Linked DNA regions of Homo sapiens: regions 1, 2, 3, 4, 5 and 6 are each linked to region 7. Evidence: promoter capture Hi-C in 16 types of primary human blood cells and fetal thymus (Javierre and others, 2016). All regions are on one chromosome and are shown on one strand. Each heading gives the region's core, a stretch centred on a gene start or on the middle of the fragment in contact. The rest is flanking DNA. Distances are from core to core; before and after follow the strand shown. Region 1 overlaps WDSUB1 (WD repeat, sterile alpha motif and U-box domain containing 1). Region 2 overlaps TANC1 (tetratricopeptide repeat, ankyrin repeat and coiled-coil containing 1). Region 3 holds the start of LOC105373716 (a long non-coding RNA gene). Region 4 overlaps BAZ2B (bromodomain adjacent to zinc finger domain 2B). Region 5 overlaps BAZ2B (bromodomain adjacent to zinc finger domain 2B). Region 6 overlaps BAZ2B (bromodomain adjacent to zinc finger domain 2B). Region 7 holds the start of MARCHF7 (membrane associated ring-CH-type finger 7).

The links. The method cuts DNA at HindIII sites, captures the fragments that hold promoters and counts their contacts. A CHiCAGO score of 5 or more calls a contact.
Region 1: a fragment that was not itself captured here is called in contact with the fragment with the promoter of MARCHF7 in region 7 in 1 of 17 cell types (megakaryocytes); the score reaches 6.0 in megakaryocytes.
Region 2: a contact is called between a fragment that was not itself captured here and the fragment with the promoter of MARCHF7 in region 7, in 2 of 17 cell types (naive CD8 T cells and total CD8 T cells). The highest score is 6.7, in naive CD8 T cells.
Region 3: a contact is called between a fragment that was not itself captured here and the fragment with the promoter of MARCHF7 in region 7, in 3 of 17 cell types (endothelial precursors, erythroblasts and megakaryocytes). The highest score is 8.7, in endothelial precursors.
Region 4: a contact is called between a fragment that was not itself captured here and the fragment with the promoter of MARCHF7 in region 7, in 1 of 17 cell types (neutrophils). The highest score is 5.1, in neutrophils.
Region 5: a fragment that was not itself captured here is called in contact with the fragment with the promoter of MARCHF7 in region 7 in 2 of 17 cell types (megakaryocytes and endothelial precursors); the score reaches 6.7 in megakaryocytes.
Region 6: a contact is called between a fragment that was not itself captured here and the fragment with the promoter of MARCHF7 in region 7, in 2 of 17 cell types (endothelial precursors and erythroblasts). The highest score is 7.6, in endothelial precursors.

The regions. Positions count from the first base shown.
Region 1 is chr2:159,257,017-159,261,134 of GRCh38, reverse strand. It overlaps WDSUB1 (WD repeat, sterile alpha motif and U-box domain containing 1), which reads left to right. Exons shown (of 11, transcript NM_001128212.3): 6 at 1,292-1,325; 7 at 3,150-3,190; 8 at 3,271-3,377. Among named protein-coding and RNA genes, the nearest start is that of WDSUB1, 28 kb to the left of the region's middle. RefSeq lists a silencer at 3,869-4,037. The HindIII fragment of the contact is 4,157 bases long and covers 790-4,118 here.
Region 2 is chr2:159,208,998-159,212,737 of GRCh38, reverse strand. The region is part of intron 19 of TANC1 (tetratricopeptide repeat, ankyrin repeat and coiled-coil containing 1); the gene reads right to left. Among named protein-coding and RNA genes, the nearest start is that of MIR6888, 24 kb to the right of the region's middle. RefSeq lists enhancers at 777-1,391, 2,696-2,915. The HindIII fragment of the contact is 2,978 bases long and covers 612-3,589 here.
Region 3 is chr2:159,232,070-159,235,923 of GRCh38, reverse strand. TANC1 (tetratricopeptide repeat, ankyrin repeat and coiled-coil containing 1) reads right to left here. Exons shown (of 27, transcript NM_033394.3): 27 at 3,265-3,854. It overlaps LOC105373716 (a long non-coding RNA gene), which reads right to left and starts at 1,217. Exons shown (of 2, transcript XR_002959431.1): 1 at 659-1,217. WDSUB1 (WD repeat, sterile alpha motif and U-box domain containing 1) reads left to right here. Exons shown (of 11, transcript NM_001128212.3): 11 at 1-126. RefSeq lists enhancers at 745-914, 2,297-2,466 and a cis regulatory region at 2,381. The HindIII fragment of the contact is 3,153 bases long and covers 710-3,854 here.
Region 4 is chr2:159,360,454-159,364,341 of GRCh38, reverse strand. The region is part of intron 27 of BAZ2B (bromodomain adjacent to zinc finger domain 2B); the gene reads left to right. Among named protein-coding and RNA genes, the nearest start is that of WDSUB1, 76 kb to the right of the region's middle. The HindIII fragment of the contact is 4,300 bases long and covers 298-3,888 here.
Region 5 is chr2:159,336,664-159,340,610 of GRCh38, reverse strand. BAZ2B (bromodomain adjacent to zinc finger domain 2B) reads left to right here. Exons shown (of 37, transcript NM_013450.4): 32 at 2,839-3,044; 33 at 3,534-3,669. Among named protein-coding and RNA genes, the nearest start is that of WDSUB1, 52 kb to the right of the region's middle. The HindIII fragment of the contact is 1,456 bases long and covers 1,904-3,359 here.
Region 6 is chr2:159,315,775-159,319,983 of GRCh38, reverse strand. It overlaps BAZ2B (bromodomain adjacent to zinc finger domain 2B), which reads left to right. Exons shown (of 37, transcript NM_013450.4): 37 at 1-1,005. Among named protein-coding and RNA genes, the nearest start is that of WDSUB1, 31 kb to the right of the region's middle. The HindIII fragment of the contact is 747 bases long and covers 1,568-2,314 here.
Region 7 is chr2:159,710,226-159,714,508 of GRCh38, reverse strand. MARCHF7 (membrane associated ring-CH-type finger 7) reads right to left here and starts at 2,003. Exons shown (of 12, transcript NM_001282805.2): 1 at 1,903-2,003. It also overlaps a transcript of BAZ2B not described here. RefSeq lists silencers at 1,405-1,524, 2,045-2,554 and enhancers at 1,715-1,994, 1,762-2,428. The HindIII fragment of the contact is 3,093 bases long and covers 1,718-4,283 here.

The DNA of each region.
Region 1 (4,118 bases), core at 1,619-4,118, 450 kb after region 7:
TTTTTCTTGAATATTTTGATTCATGGTTGAATTCACAGATAGGAAACCTGTGGATATGGAGGGCTGACAGTATATGCTTCCCAAGTTCTTGTGTTTTATTTTATATCTTTGAACTTTTAAAGTATAATTTCTATTTTGAACTTATGACAAAGATTCTGTAGTCAGTATCCATCATCAACATTGGAGGGTCTACTGAACAAGGAATTTTAAGCTAATAGGTGTGAATCCTGTGGTCAGACTGTGATCAGCTCCCTTAATAAGTACAAATATTAATGTTCTGCAGAGTGTGGTACCACTTGTATTGCAGATGTTTTTTCACCTTGTAGTGTATATTGTTCTGGCATAAAAGCCTGTTTCCAAGGGGGGTAGAAATGCCAGATAGAGGCATATTTATCCATTGTTTTAAATTACTCATTTTGTTATAATGTTGTATTTTTGTGTGTGTGATGTTCTTTTTCTTTGCTAGCATAACCCCAGATGTCTGCTTTTAATTTTTATACCATTACAAGGAATCATGTAGTCAACATCAAGTTTAGAATTATAATTTTCAAAAATGGATCATAATCAAAACATATATACATTGATTAGCATTTAAGGCACGCCTTATCAATGGTAAAGAATAGTGCTATCTGAAACAAAACCAAGTAGCAAATAATAGCTTTTCCTTGTGGTTTTTCCCATTCAGTTACTAACTTGTTATAGAGTCGTGTTTTATTTATATATCAGAGATGCTTGTTCTGTTCATGGTCATGTAGCGTAAATAGTATATACTATTGTTTTAATAAAGCTTATAATTTTCTAAATTTTATATATGGCATGTTGTTTTTTTTGAGATAGAGTCTCACTTTGCCACCCAGGCTGGAGTACAGTGGCATGATCTTGGCTCATTGTAACCTCCACCTCCCAGGTTCAGGCCATCCTCTTGCCTCAGCTTACCAAGGAGATGGGATTACAGGTGCACGCCACCATGCCCGGATAATTTTTTTCTGTATTTTTAGTAGACATGGGTTTCACCATGTTGGCCAGGCTGGTCTCAAACTCCTGACCTCATGATCCGCTCGAATCAACCTCCCAAAGTGCTGGGATTACAGGCGTGAGCCGCTGCGCCTGGCCACGTGTAGTTTTTTGAATTAAAGTTTTCATGCATATGAACAAAAGGATTGCATTCTAAATGTATGTTAATATCTGTCTTTTCTAGAAAAGTTACTAAAATTACTTAAAAATACTAATTACATAAATGCTGTACTTTGTTTTTATAGAACTTTTCACCTATAATTTATTTTCTTTTAAGGTCAGTGGATAAGTCTGTCATAGTATATGATACTGTAAGTATTTAAAAATCTTGTGGTGATCTATGAAAGTTATGTTTATTAGACTACTGAACTTCAAGTTAGGCCTGGTAGAAAAAGTATATATTTTTTCTGTTTAGTATGACTAAGAACATAAATATTTTCACAAATGCTAAAATAGTTACGCAAGTAAGATATTGGTTCTGCAACAAGCCCTTAAATATTTCAGTAATGATTTTAAGATGGATAGATTTTAAATGTGATCATAAACTATACATATTTAAAGAGCACCAGTGTTCAAAACATCACATACAATCAATTATTAAACTTTTACACCAGGCTTCCATAATAGCAAAGGATGAATGTTTACCCTAGGGTTTTTGGTGAATATGGTTGAAAGTGACCTACCATTCTTAGAGTCCTGGCTGGATTTAGGGAGAGGCATAAGAAAGGATAGGTTATCATGGACTTGGAAAATGGGAGTTTTTTACTGATCCATGTGTGGGTAAAGACCAAGTTGTGGCCGGGTGCAGTGGCTCACACCTGTAATCCCAGCATGTCAGAAGGCTGAAGCAGGCAGATGGCTTGAGTCCAGGAGTTTAAGACCAGCCTGGCCAACATGGTGAAACCTCATCTCTACCAAAAATACAAAAACTTAGCTGACCGTGGTGGCGCGTCCCTGTAGTCCCAGCTACTTGGGAGTCTGAGGCAAGAGGATGGCTTGAACCCCGGAGGTGGAGGTTGCAGTGAGCCGAGATTGTGCCACTGCACTCCAGCCTGGGCAACAGAGTGAGACCCTGTCTCAAAAATAAAGTAGTTGAAAAAAATATTGTCCAAAAGAAGAAAATGTTGAGTGGAGCCTCCTAATGCTGTAGCTATGCCAGCAAATAAATGGAGATATAAGTAATCAAAGGGTAGCGAGTTAAGCAAGTGATGTAAGCTAGTCTTCCACACAGAAGTTCGAGTCACTGAGTGTTCTGGCAGGAAATGGGAAAGAATACTCAAGCTAGGTGAGGTAAATCTTTAATATTTCTCATGAACGTTTCATGAGATTTTACATTCTCAAAAACAATTATAACACTAAATTGTCTCTGTAAAATATGTATGAGTCCCACTTAAATACACCTAAAATGTTAGATGGACACCTTAGTGTACTCTAAGGGACTAATTTATTTATTTGTTTTTTTGAGACAGACTCTTGCTCCTTTGCCCAGGCCGTAGTGCAGTGGTGCGATCTTGGCTCACTGCAACCTCTGCCTCCCGGGTTCAAGCAATTCTCCTGCCTTAGCCTCCCAAGTAGCTGGGACTACAGGCACGTGCCACCATGCCAGCTAATATTTTATATTTTTAATAGGGATGGGGTTTCACCGTGTTGGCCAGGCTGGTCTCAAACTCCTGAGCTCAAGTGATCCACCTGCCTCGGCCTCCCGACATGCTGGGATTATAGGTGTGAGCCACTGCACCCGGCCAAGGGACTAATTTCTACTCACTGGTCCTGCAATGTATACAAGTCAAATGCCATAGTCAAAAATATGAATTATTTCAGGTAATAGATGTTTAGGTTACTATTAGTAGGTTCAAACAGATGAGCAAATGCCAAGGGTCTACTGTACTAAAAATTTCTAAGGAGGTGGCTAGCAGACAATAATGCCGATAATTGACAAAAAGTGAAGTAAGTACCTGAGAATGCTGTTACAGATGCTGTTTCTGCTATTCATTGAGTAAAGTTTCAACTTATGTTAGTTACTAATAAATATTAATATATCCACTTAGTATACAACCCATTTATGTCAAATGAGTCTTCATCAGTAACTTTACTCTTACTTGAGTAAATTTAAAGCTGTTTTTATTGTTTTTCAGAATACTGAGAATATACTTCACACATTGACTCAGCACACCAGGTCTGAACTTAACCTCACCTTGTATTAATATAATTTAAAAATTAGTCAGAAGATACATAATAGTTGTTTTTATTAACTAGGTATGTCACAACTTGTGCTTTTGCACCTAATACCCTTTTACTTGCTACTGGTTCAATGGACAAAACAGTGAACATCTGGCAATTTGACCTGGAAACACTTTGCCAAGGTTAGTAAGGACATCATTTTTCACTCATTTCAACCCCACTCACCATTAGGGTCAGAAAGTTAGTAAATCGGGCTGGGCACCGCGGCTCACACCTGTAATCCCAGCACTTTGGGAGGCCAAGGTGGGTGTATCACTTGAGGTCAGAAGTTCGAGACCAGCCTGGCCAACATGGTGAAACCCTGTCTCTACTAAAAATACAAAAAAGTAGCTCAGCATGATGGTGCATGCTTATAATCCCCGCTACTCGGGAGGCTGAGGCAGGAGAATCGCTTGAACCTGGGAGGCGGAGGTTACAGTGACCTGAGATCGTGCCATTGCACTCCAGCCTGGGCGACAAGAGTGAAACTCCATCTCAAAAAAAAAAAAAAAAGTTAGTAAATCATTTGACAGGTTATTCACATTGCTTTTATCAATATAAAGTATACATCCAAATTTAATGTCATTTAAAAATAGTTTGGCCTGGCATGGTGGCTCACACTTATAATCCCAGCACTTTGGGAGGCCGAGGTGGATGGATTGCGTGAGCCCAGGAGTCTGAGATTAGCTTGGGCAACATGGTGAAACCCCATCTCTACAAAAAAGACAAAAATTAGCCACACATGGGGGTGTGCACTTGTGGCCCCAGCTACTTGGGATGCTGAGGTGGGAAGGATCACCTGAGCCCAGGAGGTCATGAGGCTGCAGTGAGCTGAGAACACGCCACTGTACTTCAGCCTGGGCAAGGGAGTGAGAACTCATCTC
Region 2 (3,740 bases), core at 851-3,350, 500 kb after region 7:
TGTTGGCCAGGATGGTCTCCAACTCTTGACCTCGTGGATCTGCCTGCCTTGGCCTTCCAAAGTGCTGGGATTACAGGCGTGAACCACCATGCCCAGCCGGGATGATGGTTTTTAAGCCTAAAATCTAAGCCACCTCTTGGACACTGACTCATTTCTCTGGGTATCTCCCATGGATACAACACAAGATATACCTACTATTCAACTTCTGTTTGTGTTAATCTGTCTTTCGTTGCTGCAGTCTGTCCCAAGAACTGTGAAGGGTAGGGATGAAGTGATTTCTTCCTCTCCTACAATATACATTTTCTGGATTGATTTGATCGTGACCCTGAACACGCATGATTCTTACGCTAGAAGATCTGGGTATTGAACCACTACCTGGATCTGCTGCTGCTCTGCCATTTTCCTCTAGGCAAGGAACAACTCCCTCTTCCTCCTCTCCCTGGTTGACCAGAAGAAGGAATGAATCAAAACAAAGACGCATGGGCTCCACGCAGAGGCAGGGCCTTTGCATGATGCCATGCAAAGGAATAAACACAGGACTCTTCCATTTGATGAGATCTGAAGCAGCCAATCCACCACAGCATTCTGCTCTTTTATTTGGTAAACAAGCTTCATCTACATTATAAACGGGGCCTTTAAATCAGGATTTCTGTTAAAGCTGCTACTGAATTTTTGCAACAGCAGCACATCAGAAATGACAGTCCAGCACTAAAAATAGGGACCTCTGTTTCACAGGGGCATCAGAGAAACCACAAGTTGGAGCAACTGACAAGGGGCGAGTGCGCCACCCCGGGCATGGCAACTGGGTTGGACCCTGTCCTCCTTTTCCTTCACAACCCTTGCTATGTATTTGGTGACTCCCTCTTGAGGCAACTAAAAACCTGTAAGCACAGGCAGACTATGCTCAGGCTTAAAACAGATCACGTTCTACACACAAATTCCTGACAAGGCTCTCGTTTACAAATGATGCAGACAGACAACAAGATCTGTGTTTTCCTTTTTCTAAGCAGATTGAGTATTCTGGGGCCATCACGGCGAACTCCTGAGGCTCTGCCATTTTCAGGGGATCTCAAGTTTTAGCAGCCACAGGGACTTACGAACACAAGAGAGACTGAAGAATAGCCACCCACATGCTTAAGCAAACAGAACCATGGCTAAATTATGCTCAGGAATTCCAGCTATTCTGCTGCAAAGGCCGACCTCTGGTGCTGCCCACCAGGCTCCAGTGAGGGTTAATGCACCCCACCTGACCCGAAGGAAAAGAGGGCAGGGGAGGGCAGGAGAAGAGAATGCCTTGCTATGGGCAGTACCTTGCCTTCTGGCCAATGAAATACAAAGATGGAGAAAAAAAGACTTGGTATGAAATGGGAGCTCAAAAATCAACGTGAACAGATGGCACTTTTTAGGACTCAAATTGGACACAATTTCTTCTAGTTGTAAAATCCTTAACAAGATGGCATTTGTGAATTAGATTCCCATGAAAGCACATACCTCAGCAACACTGTCCTGTCTTGAGAAGGCAAGTAGGTTTGTAATGGCAGACGTTCATTTTAAGAACAACCTGACTGGCCAGGTGCAGTGGCTCATGCCTGTAATCCCAGCACTTTGGGAGGCTGTGGCGGGCAAGTCACCTGAGGTCAGGAGTTCAAGACCAGCCTGGCCAACATGGTGAAACCCTGCCTCTACTAAAAATACAAAAATTAGCCGGGAGTGGTGGCACGCGCCTATAATCCCAGCTACTTGGGAGGCTGAGCAAGAGAATCGCTTGAACCTGGGAGGCGGAGGTTGCAGTGAGCTGAGATTGTGCCATTGTACTCCAGCCTGGGCGACAGAGCAAGACTCCATCTTAAAAAAAAAAAAATTAAAAGATCAGGCATGGTGGCTCATGCCTGTAATCCCAGCACTTTGGGAGGCCGAGGCGTGCAGATCAGATCACGAGGTCAAGAGATCGAGACCATTCTGGCCAACATGGTGAAACCCTGTCTCTATTAAAAGTACAAAAATTAGCTGGGCGTGATGACACATTCCTGTAATCCCAGCTACTCGGGAAAGCTGAGGCAGGAGAATCACTTGAACCCAGGAGGCAGAGCTTGCAGTGAGCCGAGATCTCGCCACTGCACTCCAGCCTGGTGAAAGAGCAAGACACCATCTCAAAAAAAAACAAAAAACAAACAAACAAACAAAACCTGACAACAATCTGAACGTATTGGAAACAGCAGTGAGAGAGCTTTTTGCACCATAAAATGGATGGTTTGCAGGAATCTCTTATATATTAAAGTTCTCTGGGAAAAGATTTGATTTGCAAAAACTCAATTGTCAACTTGCCGGGGACACAGTCATTCCACAAACAGGGCTATTCCTAAAATTTTAAAGCAGATCTGTCACTCAAATTCACAGGATGTGCTCCCCAGGCTCAGGATCGCTTGGCTTACAGATCACAACAATGGGTCTGTATTCCCACCCACATTTGCTTTTGGACCCAACTTGGGGGCTTGGAGAGAAGGGCGGCAGGGTCAGCGCACACAGAAGCTGCTTCCCGCTGGCAGACTATGACCTTTTCATGCATTACCCACGGATGTATGAAAACCATTCTGCAAACTGGAACTGAGTACCTCCAGAGAACAGCTTGTACCTGCAGAACCCACTTCCTGCTAGCTGAGAGGGCACTGCGGGCAGGGCAGGGCAGGGCGGCTGGGCTCTGCTTGTATGCTTATATTCACATGTGCAATTTACTTGCTTGTATTCACATGTGCAATTTACTTCCTATTATCCTGGCCTCTCCCATATTTTAAAAAATGAGTGGAAAATGAAAAAAATGAGTGTCAACATTAATTGAAAGCAGCAGGGTCCTCACAAATGTCATCTAATTGTGGCCAAGGTGAGAACTGTGAGATGTGGTGAAGGCAGTGATGCTTGACCCTCAGTGGCAGGCCCGATGGCCACACCCTGCTCAACTGTAAAGGCAGAGAACACCAGGAAAGAGTGTGCCTGACACACTGCACATTTCTCAGCTACTTTATCTCAATGGTAAAATGTAATGAGGGATTTTAGGATTTTTTCTTTTTTTTAAACTCTGGGAATGACTGCCCACCCTGCCTTGGTAACTGACTCTAAGTGGCTATATGGCGGCTGACCGGTCAGGCTCGCTTTGCTGCCACTGGGAGCTCGGCCGTCACACTGAGGGCCTCAGGGAAGCTGGCCCCCACATTCCCTGGCTGAAAGCAGCAACCTTTCCCCAAAAGGCCAGGCAATGTGCCTTGCCTCCCCGCCCCACCTTCTAGAAATAGGACTAAGATTTACAGAAGCCAAATTTCATAGCTTCACTGTGTTCTTTGTTAGGCATTTCCTCCCGTCTCTGAGCGAGGGGAAGGCTTCTATTAGAAAGAAGAACATACTTTCCAAGAGCTATAAATTTTTCACCTCTACAAAGACAAGGCAGTTATCTAACCTAATCCTCAACAATTTAAAGGATAAAATGAAAGGTAATCAAGATGGCTCTTCCAGAAAACTGTACTTGCACTGGGAGACAAACACCCCAAGCCTTGGTGTCTGGGACAAGCCTCCAACACTGCCAGCCTCAACTGAAGCTTCTGCAGGCTGGGGCGCTGCTGCTCAGTGACCTCACAAATGGAAGCCAGCACTGCCCAGGTACAGTCACATGCTGTGTGATGATGTTTCAGTCAGCGACAGACTGCGTATACAATAGCACAGTGGTCTCATAAGATGATAATACCATATTT
Region 3 (3,854 bases), core at 1,037-3,536, 480 kb after region 7:
TAAATTTAGTTACCTATAAAAATTGTCAATTTTCATTCTTTAAAAAACACATGGACTTACTATAAAAGCCTTTTTGTACTAGTGAAAAGAATCTTCAGCTATATAGAAATAAAGTTATACTTTAAATTGCAGTGTCCTAAGTTTTTTAAATTCCTCTTACTATCATTCCCAACAGTGCCCACATTTATTCTTGTTAGATGTAGGTCATCTCTCTTTATAACTAAAGGTTGGACTACTCTAGAATAACAGATGTTTACATTCTAGGTAATAGCCATTCATTCAATAACTCTTTGGAGGCCTTTTAAAGAGACCATTTTGTAGCAAAATGGTTGTAGATTGTTTATGATTAAATGGAGAAAAATCACTTCAGATGTTGAAGCAATTTTTTTGGATTTTAAGTTTGCAGGATAACGATTTTTTTCTTATTTTCCAAACCTAGGTACAAGTTAGATGAAATAAATTCTGAGTAAGTCAAGTTGACTTTGCTGAAATATATAACGTGACAAACTCTAGCCTCCCTTCAGAATGAAGAATTATTAAATGTTCTCACATATAATTCTAAGCTGGAGTAACTATACAAAGGCATTTTTACACAATAGCCTGATATGTTCACTCCAGAAAAAAAACTTCAGGTTCAGGAAGTAAAGGTGGTGCTAACTTCTTGCCTGTCCAAAGTTGTTACTAGAATGGAAGCCATCCGCGGGAAGCTTGTTAGAACTTCACTGTCAGCGCAGGCTGAGCCTCTGGGACTGCACCCTTCTTTGCACTATTACCTCCAGTTGCTGAAGAATTGTTCAGGAACGTTGAAACTTGGAAATAAAAAGGGAAAAGCAATGTAAATATAGGAAAAGGCTGACTACGCATTTTATGAACTCATAGCTAATATGCTGCATGTTCACAGAAAGGCAGCAAGCCTTGCTAACATGGAAATCTCCAAACATTTCTTTGTAATTCTTTGTAAACCTTTTTAACTTAATGTATTGCTAAACTTTGTTAACCTTTACGACATAACTAGGATTCATAATCAATGGTTCCAGAAAACTTTTTTATTAATATGACATGCTTCTCACATTCTTACTATTGAGGATTAGAAAGGCTAGAAGCATGTTCTAGGTGTTTTTCTGTTGTATTCTTTTCTTGTAGGGTCTCGCTCTGTCACCCAGGCTGGAGTGCAATGGCACGATCTTGGCTCACTGCCGCCTCTGCCTCCTGGGTTCAGTCAATTCTCCTGCCTCACTCCCAGGTAGCTGTGATTACAGGTGCGTGCCACCACACCCAGCTACTTTTTGTATTTTTAGTAGAGAGAGGGTTTCACCATGTCGGCTAGGCTGGTCTCAAACTCCTGAGCTCATGATCCACCTGCCTTGCCCTCCCAAGTTGCTGGGATTACAGGCGTGAGCCACCAGGCCCGGCCGTTTTTCTGTTGTATTCTTTAAATAAAGTATGCTAATAATTTCAGCAGAACACTTTTTAAACTTAAAAGAACTTACCATTGGTCCAGCTGTCTCTGTTTTGATAGACATTTTCCGATGGAGGAGGTTAGCTGGTTTTTAAATAAAAATTAAATCATTCAAAGTCATTGCTAGAAAATGCAAAAAGCCTTTTTTTTTTTTTTTTTTTTGAGACGGAGTCTCGCTCTGTCACCCAGGCTGGAGTGTAGTGGAGCGATCTGGGTTCACGCCATTCTCCTGCCCCAGCCTCCTGAGTAGCTGGGACTACAGGTGCACGCCACCACACCCAGCTAATTTTTTGTATTTTTAGTAGAGACGGGGTTTCACCATGTGTTAGCCAGGAGGGTCTCCATCTCCTGACCTTGTGATCCGCCCACCTTGGCCTCCCAAAGTGCTGGGATTACAGGCGTGAGCCACTACGCCTGGCCAAAAAGGCATTTTTTAAAATAAGTGTTAAGGTATTTTGCTTTTCTTTCTTTCTTTTTTTTTTTTTGAGACTTGCGCTGGAGTGCAGTGGTGCAATCTCGGCTCACTGCAACCTCTGCCTCCTGGGTTCAAGTGATTCTCCTGCCTCAGCCTCCTGAGTAGCTGGGACTACAAGCGTACACCACCACGCCCAGCTAATTTTTGTATTTTTAGTAGAGACGGGGTTTCACCATGTTGGCCAGGATGATCTCTATCTCCTGACCTCGTGATCCGCCCGCCTTGGCCTCCCAAAGTGCTGGGATTACAGGCATGAGCCACCACGCCCAGCCAGTATTTTGCATTCTTATACTTTACCAGGCTAGTTTCTTGTAAAACAAAACTGCTGAAAACTAAGATGCCAGTAATTTACCTAATTGACACATCTCTTCTTGTATAAAACATAAACCAAAGCCGAACAACTGTCTTCCACACAAGCAAACCAAAACCATCAGTAAGAGGGGACATGAAACAGCCCCCATGCTGGGCACTCCAGACCCCACTGTTAGTTCAGGGCAATGTGGAGCAGCAACACCTGCCCACCACCCAGTCCTGTCAGGACTGACCATTAGCTTTCTAAGGATGTATCACCTCTTCCTGGCTGGGCCAAGTACCTTACTTATCTTTACTAAGTATATATCAAAATCATAATGTACAATAAATTACGAGAATATTCTTATTAGCTCCTTTACAGGAAAAATCATCTAATGACAAGAATTATGTATTAGGCGATACGTTCCTTCCCATCCCGTTTTTGTTTTTAACCTTCCATTAAATATAAAGCTCTAAAGGACTGAAACTACTTAGCCTTGCTAGCAAGAGCAGTGACCAAATAACCTGAGGTATTATGATGTTTAAGATTCCAAGAATTTTATCACAATACAACACAGTTTAATGTTCTCTCTCATATTACTTTGAAATATGTAGGCATAAAGACATACTTTTAACTGAAAGATAATACAAATGTGTTAAAGAACAAACTGTCATAACAGTGTTCAGTGTATTGCCAAAGTGTTTGAGAATTACAGTAGTAAAGATGTCCCGTTGCCAGTAAAAACAGACACCAAGATGTCTTGAAACAGATAGATAGGAAGTATATATTGCTTTCCTGCATGCTTTCTTTCTATTTGAGGCAAAAAGACTAAATTTGGCCCTTGAGTATTGTGGAATTTCTAGCAGCTGTCACCCTTATTCTGAAATTATAAAACGAAATTAAATAAGCATTTTGTAGTGTTAATATAAAATATGCTTTTCACTATTCCCTCTAGGGTAACAAAGATTAAAAGCAACAGAGATAGCTGTCATCAGGCTGTTCTCTACTTATCCATTGACTCATTTAGTGCAAAACACATTCTATTAATAGTCTTTATTCCATATGGAAAAGTACAGTAGTTGTGCAGAAACAAAACTAACAAAGGAGTAAGACTTTCACAAATATTAAAGAAAATAAATAAGCCATAGTAGTTACAGCAAAACTCATGGAAAGCCTATAAAAATGATAAAGCTGTTCATACAAAGTACAATTGTACACACAGGAACAAACGTTGAAGAATGACATCAGAGGTTCCTATTTGTACAAAACCATAATGATGTTCACAGGAACTTCATTACAACAATTCACTTTAAAACATTCTGCAAATATATAACTTCCTTCTCCTCAATTTTAGAAAATAAATTTCACATCCCAACATATAAAACAGATACACTCCTACTTCTCTCAAATTAGCATTTTAACATCTTCCAATAACACACCATTTTCATATAAAAATACCTTTAAACCAAGGTTCATTCCTGTACCTTATCTTTACAAATGAATAATACATCAGAGCTTGGACTTAAGTAGCACCTCAAAGGTGTTCATATAAATGAGATAAAGTGCTGTTACTGGTATACTGTTAACATGCCCTAATAATATATCATTCAGTGCAATAACCAGCATGG
Region 4 (3,888 bases), core at 1,198-3,697, 350 kb after region 7:
CACGCAAAAGGTCCAAAAGCCGTTGCAGTGATTGTAATTCTAATCTTTCAGCCATAGGTAACATGGACTCCAAACCCCAGTTGAGGAACTTGTTTACCAGAGCTCTTCTGCAGTCTGGAGCTATGATACTTGGTCCTCCATTTCTAGCAAACCCGTAAATATTGGAGGCTCTTCTCTTTTCCAGCATAATCATCTGGGGTACATGGTTAGGGATCCCTTGGAAGAGAGTAAAGGGGACTGAGCCCACCTGTATTTCTCCTTGAGTTTGAAAGGGCTCAGATTAGGAACAAAGAAGCTTGGCTTCTAGAGTTGACTCAAACTCACAAAGTGGAGCTGATGACTAGGAGCATTCCCACCAGCAATGCCACTTCCAGAGTCAAGATAATGCAGAGTATCTCCCTGTCTCTATGTCCTTTAGATCTTATCAGTTTGTGTGGATGAAGCTCAATAGCCCTCGTCCTCCCCAGGGACCTTCTTCACCTAATCTTCTGGTGACTCCACCTCTCCCAATAATTATTCAAGTCTGTAAACTATTCAGTATCATGTTTCATCTCACATGTCCCTTTTCCACAGTCTCAGTGGGTCTTTTAACTTTTTGAATAGGACTACATTCCCACACTCAAGAATTAGGCCGTCTCTCAATTTCTGTCTTATCATTCCTTCTGTTTATGAGCAATATCACATTTATTGGTGTGAGGGAGATTGCCTGAGTTCAGCCTATCGGTCTACTCCTTCTTTTGTTCCTTCTTTCTTTATATTTTGGGCAGAAACCTGTGCATCTCATGAGACCCTGTCTCTTTCCATTTCCGCCTCTGCTGTGGGGCTTGTATGACCTAAAAAGAACTATTTCATGTCCAACATTGCCTCCCAGATGAAGGAATAAGTCAAAGCAGTTGTCCACTTAGGAGGACCTGCTCTGATTCGGTCATCCAACATTCTCTGCACCAAGAGCATGTTGTCAGGGATTCTCTACTCAAACCCTGGATTTTCTTATAATTACGCTAACACAGCCAGTTGTCTCAGAGTGTGTTAGAGTAACTACACTATCTGTGGATCTAGTCCATTTCACATTCAAGTGGCAGGAAAATCACCCCAATGGTAATACGTATTACCCATGCTACCAAGCATCCAGTTTAGAAGCAGGGTTACAACATCAGCCCCAGTGTTATTAGTCAACCCAGACTGCTCATTGTTTAACCAGGTCATGTGTTTCCTTTTACTCAGCTTCCCTTAACAACACTGTTGTCTCCTAACCATGCAAATTAGCAGGCCAAGCCTCTACTATCCCTACAGTAGTGGAGCTAATAAGAGTCTTGCTCTTGCTCTGTATAATGCTGGATCTCCTCCTGCTGGTGTTCTCACTCAGGCTCCTGTACACCGTGCCTCACAGTAACTGGCTTCACATACAGCAGGACCAGTTGCCTCATATTACAGATAAACAGTGGGAATTTGCCCCACCTTCCCTTCTAGAGAGACTACCACACCCTTTCTAGTGCACCCTACCAATTTGTACTCCTGAAAATCTCTAAGCTGATAAGGAGAAGAGATAGAACTTAATTTCAAGCCACTGGAAACCCTCTTTACCACTTGAGGGCTTCTGCCATTCTCAGGCGTAGCTACTGAGACCATCCTAACTGCCAAGTGAATTACCACTGTCCCCAGGAGAAATTCTTTGACCCATGGGTTCTCCTCTTTCAGAAAGCCATGACATCGGGACTTTGTTGGGCACCAACTGTAGTACAAGATGGTTACACAAACCACTAACACACATGGTGCTAATAGCAGCAAAGTTTGTTAGTGAGAGTAACCTACAAGCAAAGAAGTAACCGTACACAGGATTCCCAGCCTCCATAATGATTCCACAGGACTTGGACATGCAGCAAGAGCACTCCAAGAGACGAAACACTGTACCCCACACCTTGCCCTGTATGCATTAGTGTGAGAAAGAGTAGAAAGCACTTAATTTCTGAGTAATGATAAACATTATCAAGGGACCTTTGGGTTTAGAAACAGTGCTAGGACATATGCATATCAAGGGTCAAAGTCTACATAGGGAGGACGCTGAGAACAGTGTTGACCTCAGCTGAAGGCCTTCTGACCTGCTGCTGCCTCTCAGGGAAGTGGGAAAGAAGAAAGCCCCTATGGCCTTCCAGCCAAAACCAAGGATTTTTTTTTCCAGTCCAGTTCACTGTTTTTTTTTAATTTGTTTGTTTTTTGTTTTGTTTTCTTTTGTTTCATTGTACTTTAAGTTCTGAGATACAAGTGTAGAACATACAGGTTTGTTACATAGGTATTCACTTGCCATGGTGGTTTGCTGCACCCATCAACCCGTCATCTACATTAGGTATTTCTCCTAATGCTATCCCTCCCCCAGACCCTCACCCCCCCGACAGGCCCCAGTGTGTGTTGTTCCCCTCCCTATGTCCATGTGTTCTCATCGTTCAACGCCCACTTATGAGTGAGAACTTGTGGTGTTTGGTTTTCTGTTCCTGTGTTAGTTTGCTAAGAATGATGGTTTCCAGCTTCATCCATGTCCCTGCAAAGGACATGAACTCATCCTTTTTTATGGCTGCATAGTATTCCATGGTGTATATGTGCCACATTTTCTTTATCTAGTCTATCATTTATGGGCATTTGAGTTGGTTCCAAGTCTTTGCTATTGTGAACAGTGCTGCAATAAACATACATGTGCATGTGTCTTTATAGTAGAATGATATATAATCCTTTGGATATATACCCAGTAATGGGATTGATTGCTGGGTCAAATTGTATTTCTGGTTGTAGATCCTTGAGGAATCACCACACTGTCTTCCACAATGGTTGAACTAATGTACACTACCACCAACAGTGTAAAAGCGTTCCTATTTCTCCACAGCCTCGCCAGCATCTGTTGTTTCCTGACTTTTTAATGATTGCCATTCTAACTGGCATGAGATGGTATCTCATTGTGGTTTTGATTTGCATTTCTCTAATGACCCATGATGATGAGCTTTTTTTCATATGTTTGTTGGCTGCATCAATGTCTTCTTTTGAGAAGTGTCTATTCATATCCTTCACCCACTTTTTGATGGGGTTGTTTATATTTTCTTGTAAATTTGTTTAAGTTCTTTGTAGATTCTGGATACTAGCGCTTTGTCAGATGGCTAGATTGCAAAAATCTTCTCCCATTCTGTAAGCTGCCTGTTCACTCTGATGATAGTTTCTTTTGCTGTGCAGAAGTTCTTTAGTTTAATTAGATCCCATTTGTCAATTTTGGCTTTTGTTGCCATTGCTTTTAGTGTTTTAGTTACCAAGTCCTTGCCCATGCCTATGTCCTGAATGGTATTGCCTAGGTTTTGTTCTAGGGTTTTTATGGTTTTAGGTCTGACGTTTAAGTCTTCAATCCATCTTGAGTTAATTTTCGTATAAGGTGTAAGGAAGGGGTCCAGTTTCAGTTTTCTGCATATGACTAGCCAGTTTTCCCAACACCATTTATTAAACAGGGAATCCTTTCCCCATTGCTTGTTTTTCTCAGGTTTGTCAAAGATCACATGGTTGTAGATGTGTGGCATTATTTCTGAGGCCTCTGTTCTGTTCCACTGTTCTATATATCTGTTTTGGTACCAGTACCATACTGTTTTAGTTACTGTAGCCTTGTAGCATAGTTTGAAGTCAGGTAGTGTGATGCCTCCAGCTTTGTTCTTTCTGCTTAGGGTTGTCTTGGCTATATGGGACCTTTTTTTGGTTCCATATGAAATTTAAAGTAGTTTTTTTCTAATTCTGTGAAGAAAGTGGTAGCTTGATGGGGACAGCATTGAATCTATAAATTACTTTGGGCAATATGGCCATTTTCACAATATTGATTCTTCTATCCATGAGCATGGAATGTTTTTCATTTGTTTGTGTCCT
Region 5 (3,947 bases), core at 1,382-3,881, 370 kb after region 7:
TCTCTCCTGGCCTACAAGGTTTCTGCTGAGAAATCCAATGTTAGTCTAATGGAGATTTCCTTATATGTGACTTGACACTGTTAATGCTTTCAGAATTCTTTGTCTTTTGACTTCTTACAGGGTGACTATAATATGCCTCAAAGAGGACCTGTTTGGGTTGAATTTCTTGGGATTCTTCAAACTTCCTGTACCTGAATTTTCCTCTTTCTCCCAGGATGTGGAAAGTTTTCTACTATTATTTCATTAAATTTTTTTTCCTCACCTTTCCCTTCTCTTCACCTTCTGTAACACCCACAGGAATATTTGTTTGCTTAATGGTGTCCCATAAATCCTATAGGCTTTTTCCTTCTTTTTTTCCTTTTTCTTTGTTTTCCTTTCTTTCTTTCCCCCCACCCCTTGGTCTGCCTATGTTACTTCAAACGACCTGTCTTCAGAAATTCTTTCTTCCCCTTGGTCTAGTCTGTCTTTTTGATCTAGTCTTGTATTTTTTACTTTATTCATTGAATTATTTAGCTCTAGAACTTCTGTTTGGTTCTTTTTTATATCTGTCTCTGTTGATTTTCTCATTCAAATCATGAATTGTTTTCCAGATTTTGTCTAATTGTCTTTATGTATTCTCCTATTTCTTCTGTCAAACCATATATTTGTACCCATTAGTCAATTTCTCTTACTCTCACTCTCTCCCTACCCTTCTCAGCCTCTGGTAACCACCAATCTACTCTCTACATTCTAGAGTAGAGTAGCTTTTTTAGTTCTCACATATGAGTGAGAATATATAATAATTTGTCTTTCTGTATCTGGCTTATTTCACCCAGGATAATGTCCTCCAGTCCATCCATTTTGCTGCAAATAACAGGATTTCATTCTTCTTTATGACTGAATAATATTCCATCCTATAAATATACTGCATTTTCTTTATCCATTCATCTGTTGATGGGCATTTAGGTTGATTCCATATTTTAGCTATTGTGAATATTGCTGCAGTAAATATAGGAGTACAAATATCTCTTCCATATATTGATTTTCTTTCTTTTCTATGTATACCCACTAATGGAATTGCTAGATCGTATGGTAGTTCTATTTTTAGATTTTTGAGGAACTTTCACACTGTTTTTCATAGTGGATAAGTTGGTTGTCTATCTTGATCTCACTTTTTTCAGTGTAGAAACTGTGAGTTAGGGGGAAGTTTTCTGTGTGCTTGGTTCCTGGCAGAATGAGGGTAGAGAAGCATCGTGGATATGGAAGTCCAGTTCTCTTACCATCTGCTCAGAGTTTTTTCACTTCTCTCTTGCCACAGGAACTATCTCATCCTCATGTTTGAATTTTGGGATGTTGCTGGTGATCGTCTCAGTGCCGTATATTTATTTTGGGTTTTCTGAGTGGTTGGCGGCAGGGACGGGGAGGGCATTGGAGGCAGGAACTGAAGCCAGCTTGTATCTGTGACACCATTTTAGAGTCCATCCTTCCTTTCTAAATATAAATATTCTACTGAGTTAAAGGGGAAGAATTTATCCTAGTATATAAGATAAAATAATTATATCTAAAGAGATGTTTAAGTTTATTCCATTTTTCATTTAATATGCATTTATTAAATACCTATTGCATCTCAGGCAGTGGACACCAAAAAATTGGATAAAGTGTCGTTCCTACCATAAGAAAGCTTGTCATATAATAGGGAGATCAGACATATACATATATGCAGAATCTAGTAGCTGATTGTTGAGAACAGAGTAATGTATGAATTTAGAAGAAGAATACTGACTTCTGGCAGAGATATGGAAGATTTCATTTAGAAGTTGAAATGGAACTTAAGAAAATGAGTATGGTTTGGACAATTGGAGACCAGGCAATATCATCCCAGGAAGTGGGAACAGCATGAGCAGAGCACGAGGATTGGAAAGCTTATCTCATGTTTGTGGAAGAGCAAATTATAGAATTTGACTGCAACATAAGATGTGTGAATGGGAACATGAAAAGGGATAGATTGAGGTACTTCAATGCCATGGTGAACATTTCCTAAAGAATAGGAAATCTTTGAAGGATTTTGAGCTACAGGATCATTGATTGTTCAGTCAACATACATGTATTGAGTGCCCATTATTTGCCTGCACTGTACTGGAGATAAATGAGTAAAAGCAGACATAGTCCCTGCTCTCATGGAATTTAGAAGTAGAAAAATATTCATCGAATAATTACACTACTATAAAATTACATTTATGACAAGGCTAAGGAGCATGGTCCTATGAGAACCTGTCAGAGAGGGACTTAGCTCCTGAAAGAGGTCAGGAAAGGATTCCTATCAGGATCCTTTCATGTTAAAGTGAATCTTAACATGAGACCTATGAAATGAGTGGCGTTAACTAGGTGAAGAGGAGCAAAAGAAAAGCAATACAGATAAAGGTAATAGCATATTTGAAGCCCCTGCAGTCAAAGGAAAAATGGTGAGCACAGAAGGACCTGTACAGAAGAATAATGGAAGGAATGAAAACAGAAAGGAAGAGCAAAGGCTCAGAGGCTACCCAGAGATTTCCATTTAAGTGATCCCATGAAACTGATAAGCATTTTGGTCTAAAATCCTTCAAAATATTTTGCTGATTGTTCTTATACCTTTTATAATATCAAAAGTTTATAAATTTTATTTTTCAAACTTTTCTTACAACTATTTCTTTTAATTTTTTTCTTCTTATTTCCACCTAGTTTTAGGAAACACAAGGTAAAATCTTTTAGTAACAATCCTTGAGATCTGCCAGTATCCAATGCTGTATTTTAAGTAAAGGTAATTCACCCACCTAGCATTTTAAGAGGAAACCATAATAACACTATTCTCTTGATATATAGGGTTGGATGTGTCCAGAGCCTGCATCAGAAAGGGAGGACTTGGTATATTTTGAACATAAATCATTTACTAAATTGTGCAAGGAGCATGATGGAGAATTTACTGGCGAAGACGAAAGCAGTGCACATGCACTAGAACGGAAGAGTGACAACCCCCTAGATATAGCTGTAACCAGGCTGGCTGATTTGGAGCGGAACATTGAAAGAAGGTATCTGAAGAGCCCCTTAAGTACCACCATTCAGATCAAACTGGATAATGTGGGCACAGTTACTGTCCCTGCTCCTGCACCATCCGTTAGTGGTGATGGTGACGGGTAGGTTATTGAGATTAACTTGAAAAATTATTGTGCTTCTTTGCTAATTGGAGCCTATTTTCTATTGCCTGTTATCTATGTATCTTCTTGTATGTCTGTGATCCATACGGATCATGCTATTTGCATGGTGCTTTGTAAAAACTTTTTTTTTGTTATGTGCGTTGATAATCCTGCAAAGTGATCTTACATCTACCTGGTTGTGACTAAGCTTTGAGGCACGTAGCCACAGTCTGTGCACTACATCAAATTTAGTTGCTTAAACCTTATACTTATTGGCTGTTACATGTTTTTGTCATTGCTTGGCTTTCAGTGTGATGATTGTTTCACATTCCGTAATCGTAAGTGTGGACATGACCTACTTAATTTTTCTATATTTCAATGCAGAATTGAAGAGGATATTGCTCCAGGGCTCAGGGTATGGAGAAGGGCATTATCAGAAGCTCGCAGTGCTGCACAGGTAGCTCTGTGCATTCAGCAATTACAGAAATCAATAGCATGGGAAAAATCAATTATGAAAGTTGTAAGTGTTTTTATTTAAGAAATATTATAACTAATTTACTTTGTCCTGTTTCTTCCAACCTCCAGATCTTTCTTAATTATACATTACCTATTGTCATAATAATGTATGCTATACTTGAGAGTTTTTCTAATTCTAAAAGATTTTTGATACTTTCCTCCTTACTGAAGGAACCTTTCAAATGTGTTATCTTTTATTTTTTAAAATCTTGCTTCTGCCTCCTTTGAATATCGTTTATACCTCTAACTGAAGTTGTCTCCCACATTCCATCAGCACAATAG
Region 6 (4,209 bases), core at 692-3,191, 390 kb after region 7:
GCAATTAAAATATATCAAATCGCACTGAATACTCAACACCAGAGCTCTAATGTGGGAAATGGTTCTCCTTTCCCTCTCAATAAATATCTATTTTTCATTTTTTTACTTTGTAGTTTATTTTTTAGTGAATGTATTTAATTTTATGAATTATTTATGATTAAACCACATCCAGAATCTTCGTTTTCTGTGAAAAGGAAGAACTAGAAAATTGCTTTAAATCTTGAAAATACAAGGAATGTTTTAAAATATAAAACAAAGCCAAGTTAAACTGTTTACACTGATGTGCTATAAAAGCACCAAAAAGAAACTTTACTGTAGAGTTACAAGTACATTTATATATATATGTTGCTGCATCACTTGTGTAGTTAAATTGTATTTCAAAACAGTGAAAAAATTGACATGTATATACTGTTCATTCTTGTTTATATTAAGTCTTGTTTTAAATATGTATTATGTGTATATATTGTTTGCAGACATTATTGTTCATGCCTTAGAGGATTGTAGCATTTTATTTTCGTCTGAAGGTAATGATAGCTATACAGTCTGTACAGTAATTATCCTCTACCAACACTGTGGCGTCTCCTTAATCTTGGTAGTGCCTGCCTTTGAAACAGGGTGTAGGGGATATTAGTTTTCCATTTTTCTATTTTGTTATATAATTTTAAGCCACCAGGGCCTAAATTAAAGTATAATCATTTGTATCCATGTGGAATAAAATTGTGACAATTTCCTACGCACACAGTATTTTTTCATAGAAACATTTCCCTCCCATTTGCCTTGCCTCAGAAATAAATTTAAAAGACGTTTGTAACCACTGTGTTTTATCTACTGTGTGTTGTGGTGGCCTGTTGGAGGCAAATAGATCAGATTTTTTTTGTACCTACGTAAGAGTACTTGAAGTTTTATTTAAAATAAAATGTTGTGGAAAAGGTAGCATTCTTTTTTTAGGAGTGTTATTTTTCACTATGTGTGGCACGGATACAATAAAAGACTTTTACAAACTAATTTTTTAGTTTTTCTTAATGTACCTGAAAATATATTCTTTTTTAAAAGCCAGTTAATTTAAATTTGATTTTTACAGAGACCTGTAGGAGGAACAGTGTGTAGAGTGTGGTTCAAAGAGCACTGGGCTGGGTGGAAGAGGGTGAGTTTAAGTCAGGTGGCCAAACTTCTGTAGCCTGAAAACCTCTCTGGTCTGCGAACTTCTCCGAACCTTGTCTTCTTTCTTATTTCACATTTTCAAGATGAAAATATTAGAATACATTAGATCTTGTTCTGGTCTGAAAAATGCCTCTATGGGTAGCCAAATAACTCAGTTGTCAAGAAGAAAAACGGATATATAAATTAGTCTAATAAGACATGTATTTCTCCAAGAATTCAAGAAATGCAATTTGCTGCCCTGCTGGGCTCCGCCAGACTCCGGAGAATCATTGGCGTACAAGACAGGCCTTGCCTTCATGGAGCTTATAGCCCCTTGAAGTGGGCCTTAGATAATGTCCACTGCTTTTTATCATGAAGAGAGAATATAGAAATGTTTTGCAAAAAATTTTTTTAACTTCACAAAGCTTCAAAGCCACAGAGTATTTTCAGTATCTCTAGATTGTTTGTGAAGACTTATATGAAAAATCAGCTGTTACTATGTAAATATGTCAGTTTCTGTTAACCAGATATTGCAGTGATGCCTTAAAGGGGCTGGTGCTTAAGCAAAAATGCTTTGTAGAGCAGGGAAGAAGGCAGCACTGTGAATAAAAGTGTCTGGTTTTTGTGTTTCTAGAACTGCCTGATGCTCCATGGGGATTCTTCATGATGATTTTTTTTTGCCTTAGAGATTATATATGCTTATGTTAATTTATATTAGATGGTATATAAGGGGCTTGATAATAACATGTCTGGTGCCTCAGGGGCTCATAAATAAGAAAGTACTTAAACACACACACCAAAATTTTTGAGAGTGATAATTTTAAAAATAAATAGGAAAAAAAGAAAGGCTTGGTAAACACTGGCTACTTCGGACTGGTGTCTTCATTGTTGTTACTCAGCAGAGGTAGCTGTTAAACACTGAGTGGGCATGAGCCCACAAGGGCTGCGGTTGGAGCACATGACAGTGGTTACTATACATACGTGGATCACTTGTTATGTAAGTGATTCATGCACTCCCAGTGCCCTTGGTTGGGCTTATTCTCAATAAAACCAGTATCATTGTTCTCCTCAAATTAAAAAAAAAAAAGATTATCCTAACTCTCTCTGCTGTCACATAATTGCAAGTATATACAACATATTTTCCTTAAGATAAATTAGGCTTTCACCTGAAGCTTCCTCATTTTAGTCCTAAAATCTGTAAATTATTAAGAAACTGGCCTACTTTCAAGTTTAGATTTAGATTACCACTCAAGTGGTGACCAACCAAGGATAACCAAACAATCCACTACTGTTGAACACAGAAAATAATCATCAGTTTGAAACAGTATGCAGACAGTAAAGTAATATTTGAGTTGTTAACCACAGTGAAAATTAAACAGGTGAAGATGTGTCTATAGGTACACCTAAAACCCAAAAGAAGTAAATTAACCATAAATGCAAGGTGATCTTTTTCTTGTTCCAACTCCAAAATAAAACTTGTCACAAGCACCAGTTTTAATCTGAATTATGAAGGATCTAATCTGTCTTTAGTACCTTAATGTACCCCTCCATGCTCCTTCTCTTTTCCAGCCCCTCAATCCCCATATTCTTTAAGGAAATTCAAAATTCTGTCCCTTTAGCTTTCTCCCTTTAAACACATCCTCAACAAGGAAATCTGCTATCAGACATTTATTCCTAATTGTACTTTTAATTTATGAGCTTCCTCTTTCAAGGTTATTTGCTTTTCAAATATCTCCATTTGAGAAATGAAAGAGGTTTGTGTCTTCCTAAAAGAATTTTATTTCAACAAGGAGAATAAAGGAGGTATTTTATTTTATTTTATTTTATTTTATTTTATTTTATTGAGACAGAGTATTGCTCGGTCGCCCAGGCTGGAATGCAGTGGTGTGATCACAGCTCACTGCAACCTCCGCCTCACGGGTTCAAGTGATTCTTGTGCCTCAGCCTCCTGAGTAGTTGGGACTACAAGCACGTGCCACCACACCTGGCTGATTTCTGTATTTTCAGTAGAGATGGGGGTTTCACTATATTGGCCAGGCTGTTCTCAAACTCAGATGATCTGCCTGCCTCAGCCTCCCAAAGTGCTGGGATTACAGACATAAGCCACTAAAATGTTCTTTTCTTTCTTTTTTTTTTTTTTTTTTTTTTTTTTTTGAGATGGAGTCTTGCTCTGTCACCCAGGCTGGAGTACAGTGGTGCAATCTCGGCTCACTGCAAGCTCCGCCTCCTGGGTTCACACCATTCTCCTGCCTCAGCCTCCCAAGTAGCTGGGACTACAGGTATCCTCCACCACGCCCGGCTAATTTTTGTATTTTTAGTAGAGACGGGGTTTCACCGTGTTAGCCAGGATGGTCTCGATCTCCTGACCTCGTGATCTGCCCCCACGGCCTCCCGAAGTGCTGGGATTACAGGCGTGAGCCACCGCGCCCGGCCAAGCCACTAAAATTTTCTTTCCAGGGGGATGTGACTTTAAAAACTAGGGAAATGAATAGAATCTTATCTGCTGGGAATCTTGCTTCAACAAGATCTCTTAGACTTGCTTTGGCCTCATTACAACTCTACAAAAAAAGGAATTTTTTTTAAACCTCAAATAATTGAGGTAATTAATTTCTTTCTTCAATTCATGGCACACTCTTTACATTATTCTTGCAAAGCCCCTCTGTGTTACTTTTTTTGTTTTATTCTTCAGTTCATCTCCACTTTCCCCTATATACAACCACTTAAAATATGCCTTTCCAGTCGACTACTTATGTATTTATTTAGCAATATGTTTCTTTATATAATATGAAAAATACGTATGTACACACAGTGGTTTTTAGACATATCAGTTGTATTATGCTATAAATCTTATTGTTTTTAAATTCTGTTTCTGTTTCTTTTGAGTTGAAAAAATGTGTAACTCTAGTTCATTGGTTTTGATTGCTATAAGGTATTCCATCAGAGGCATACACAACATTTTACTTACAAATTCCTCTAGAAATGAAAACCTAGGTTGCCTGCAACTCATTGTCACTGCAAATAATACTTCAGTGATTTTTTTAATACATGGACTTGTGTATGGAATCCAGT
Region 7 (4,283 bases), core at 754-3,253:
CTAGTGAGCCTTCACATCTTAGTTCAGGCAATAAATAAATAAATCCTGTAAAATTTCCAAGATTAAGCACCCCTCCCCTATGCTCCCACAGAACCACTGTACAGTCATATTAAGATAATAATAGTTGTTTATACATTAGTCTGATGACTAAACAGTGAGTTGTGGAGGGCAGATGCCATGTCAAGCTCATTCTTGTAATGTGAAGCTCTCCATAATTTGTAATTTGACTACAACAAATTACAAATTATCTAAAAAAGTTTTAAGATATTTGACAGATTTTGCATTATAAAATTATTTTCCTACAATAAAATGTCAAAATGTAGACGATTCTTGAACATAGAGCAGATAAAAGAGTTGTGTAAGGTGGGTATGGAGCGGACTAAAAATTGGCTACATGAGAGTCATGGATGACTTTTGTGTCCAAGTTCGTTACCTGACACCTTCATGTAGAACATAACCTGGGCATCCTCGTGCTTTATCTGGGAAAATAGCCCTCTTCCAGGTGGCAGAAAAAAGAAATCATTTGTACTTGAATAAGTAGGAATTCTTAATTCAAGACACCTGACCCAGCACTAAACTTGGAAAAAAACCAAGACTAGTATTATGTCCCCTAGTGACTGCTTCACACACCACCTCAGCAAATTTAATCCTCTCTAGAAATTAACTGCCATGTTTCTGAGACAATCTCGTGAACTTAAATAACTATGGCAAAAATCAAGACTCAAACCCAGGTCTTCTGAGTCTGGTGCTACTGCCTCATGCACCAGTCCTGTCTCCCAAAATGCTGTAGAGCTGTTAAATAAAAATATTATACTGACCTCATTTCTCAAACAAACTTTTTGCTACCTCAAGTAAAAGATCTAGTTACACTACATGTGTGCCTTCTTAATAACTGTATACTATTGGATTTTTAAATCGAAAATTCATCTTTAATCCTACATCTTGGTTCTGGACAGAAAGGTGGAGATTTAAAATAACATGTAATCAGAAAAATAGCTAATCAATCCTACAAAATGGGGGAGAAAACCTCGCCAAATTTCAGTTTTCACACATTTAACTAATAGTAACAAACAACATTAGTCGTGACGAATTTATTACCCAGATAGACTTTCCCAATATATTTACTTTGGTACTTGAGAAAAAGTATTAAGTGCAGCATTTTGGGGTGAGGGGGTGGACACACATCTTCAATACGCAGTTTCACCAAAATGAGGGAGTTTCCTACTCCCGGCGCCTTCTATATTTTTACTTCTTAGGCCAACAGGTCCATTTTTAATACAATCACCTACTTCGAGTTGCAGAACCCACAATTCACCACAACACAAAAATAACTCTCAGGGCGTCACGATATTCAAAAACTGACGTTACCAATAAGACAATCTTGGCCGAATCTAAGGGGCTACCGAAGTCACTTCGACTCGAGGCCGGGCTGGCCGAGCCGGAGCCCTGCCCGCCTTTGCCCCGCGCTCACCGGCGAGCTCACGCGCGACACCCGCGGCCCGCAGGGCTCCGAAGACCCCCCGCCCCACGGCCCAAGAGGAGGCCGCCCCGCGCCAAAGGAGGGCTCAGGCTTCTTCCCGTCACCCGCCACACGTCCCTGAGGAAGACACACAATCTGTCCCCTGCACCCGCCACAAACTCCACCACCCGACCAAAGGCCCCTGGCAAGGGAGGCCTGCGCTGTGGCCCCTTGGCCCCGGTGGCCCCGGACCAAGCTTCTCCACCTCATCCTGAGAGGAAGCGGCCTCCGCGTCCCCAGGCCTCTTCGTTTCCTCCCCTCCCCCACTCGCGGCCTGGTCCCGAACTAGCGCCCAAGACGGAGAAGAACTAGCTCCGCAGCTCATTACCCCGGCTCCTGAGCCGGCACCGACCAGTGCGCGTCCCACTCGCAGCAACACGCACCGCCGCCTTTCTCCTTGGAGTTCTAGGCCCGTGACTGAGGAAATGCAGTCGGCAGCGAAGCACAATGGCGCCCGCCCCTCTCCCGGATCCGGCGCAGAACCAGCCACCACCGTTAAGTGCCCCTCCCTGCTCCTCCTCCCCCCACTTCGCGGACTTCCTGGCTTCTCGCGAGAGTGGCGGCGCGGCGGGGACCGAGAGCTGCGGGCGGGCTGGAGGTACCCCACCGCGGGGTGGTGCTCTGACTGCGGGAACCGTTGAAGAGCTGCCCCCGGGGAGTCAGCGAGGCGCCACTGGTAAGCGGCAGCGGCTGGCTGGCCGGCGTGCCGGCAGCTGGGCTGGCGAGTGTGCGGGCGCCGGGCGCTGGAGGCCCGGGCCGGGGCGGTCCCCGCCCGTCTATAGTCTCTGAGCCAGCCCCTTCCCTCCCGGGCGCCGGGTCCCCGCCCACAGGCCCACCTGCAGGGCCCCGTGCTCGAAATAACGCCCAGCTGGTTGGCTTTTTTTTTTTTTTTTTTTCTTTTTCTGGCTCTTGGTAAGTGGCGCAGTGAATGTTGAATTGAATCAAGCACTGCCTTTTCCGACCTACCCCTCCCCGCTTGCTTCCCTGCCCGCCCTGTGTGATCTAACTGCAAGCCCTTTCCCTTAAGAGTTGGAGCCTGTTTGTCCAACCTTGTGATCATTTCCTTGTGGTAAGAATCTTGGTAAATGATGGTGATCATGTCTTTTAAAATCGTGATAGTAACCTTTAATAGCGTAGCCATCGATTTTGCAGTAAACAAATTCACCTATTTAGAAAGAGGGAGGAAAATTGTGAGGTGAATGGTCTGGTGAATATTAGATGAAACTTTCAAAGAACTGTAAATGTGGCAAACTAAGATGTAAATGAGTACTAATAAATAAAAGGGAGTAGGTTAGGGAAAAGCTACATCTAACTATGTGTAAATATTTAGATGATATGTTGATTTGGAATAATGAATCAAAAGTTTTTTAATGGAAAAGATCAGTTATTGAAACTTGGAAGAATACTGAAAGGCACTTGATTTTTTTTAATGACCTATTTTGTTAAGGTATTAAAAGCAATCCTTTGGATCCAAATAATTCCAATAAATGAAACACAGTGTTTCTACGTGTTTGTCATTACATCGGAAGGGAATGGAGTATCAGTCACTATCATCCTTATTTTATTGTCTTGGGGACTAACAGACTGTACATGTTTCACTATGATAAATTCTAAAATACTATAAATTTTAAAGACTTAAAGGTATTTTAAGTTGGCATGTAAGTGCCAATCTAACTTTTAGGATATGAAATGAAAATAAGCATCTGGTATGGGATAAAGTGAACAGAGATTACTTTTGAGGAAATTAATTTGCCCTTTAAAGAAAAATAATTCTTTTCCAGCCTGTTCGAGTGCCCCTGCAGCATTGTGGTTATAGATACACGGATGTATACACCCTGAAGAACCAGACTATATGGCTTCAAATTCCACCCCTGCCTCTTACTACCTTTGTTATCTCAAGCAATTCCTTAACCTTGCTAAACCTAGGTTTCCTGTAAAACGGGGTTAATAACAGTACCCATGCTCTGTAGCATTGTTTAGATGAGATAACACGTCAGTTCCTGAAACAAGTAAGCATTCCGTAATTGTTAGCTATTACATTCCATGTCTAAACCACCAATAATATTGTTTCTTTCTGTGACTTAATATTACATAGGTCTCTTAGACATCTTCTCAAGATTATGCTAAGAGAAATGACTGCACCCTTTTCCTGAGCTATGGCAGTCAGACCTGGCAGTGGTAACTACTCTACAGAACTCCCAAACCTGGCAAGGATGGTGCAGATTTTGGCAGATTATGGCTTTGTCCCCACCCAGCACTGATGATATTATAAAGTGAGTATGACACCAATTTCCTATGCTAAACAGAGCTTCTAGTTTTTTATTGGTGCTAGTAAATAAAGACCACTGATGAATATGTTTTTATTATTTAAGAATGGTTCGTTGTGTTTCTTTTTAATGTACTCTCTCTGATTTTAGTATTCAGGTAATTATCATGAGTGATAAATAATTATTGAGATTTTGCTATGCTGCAGACATTTTGCAGCCGGGCGCCGTGGCTCATGCCTGTAATCCCAGCACTTTGGGAGGCCAAGGTGGGTGGATCACGAGGTCAGGAGATCGAGACCATCCTGGCTAACACAGTGAAACCCTGTCTCTACTAAAAGTACAAAAAATTAGCCGGGCGTGGTGGCAGGCGCCTGTAGTCCCTGCTACTTGGGAGGCTGAGGCAGAAGAATCACTTGAACCCAGGAGGCAGAAGTTGCAGTGAGCCAAGATCATGCCACTGCACTCCAGCCTGGGCAACAGAGTGAAACTCCATCTCA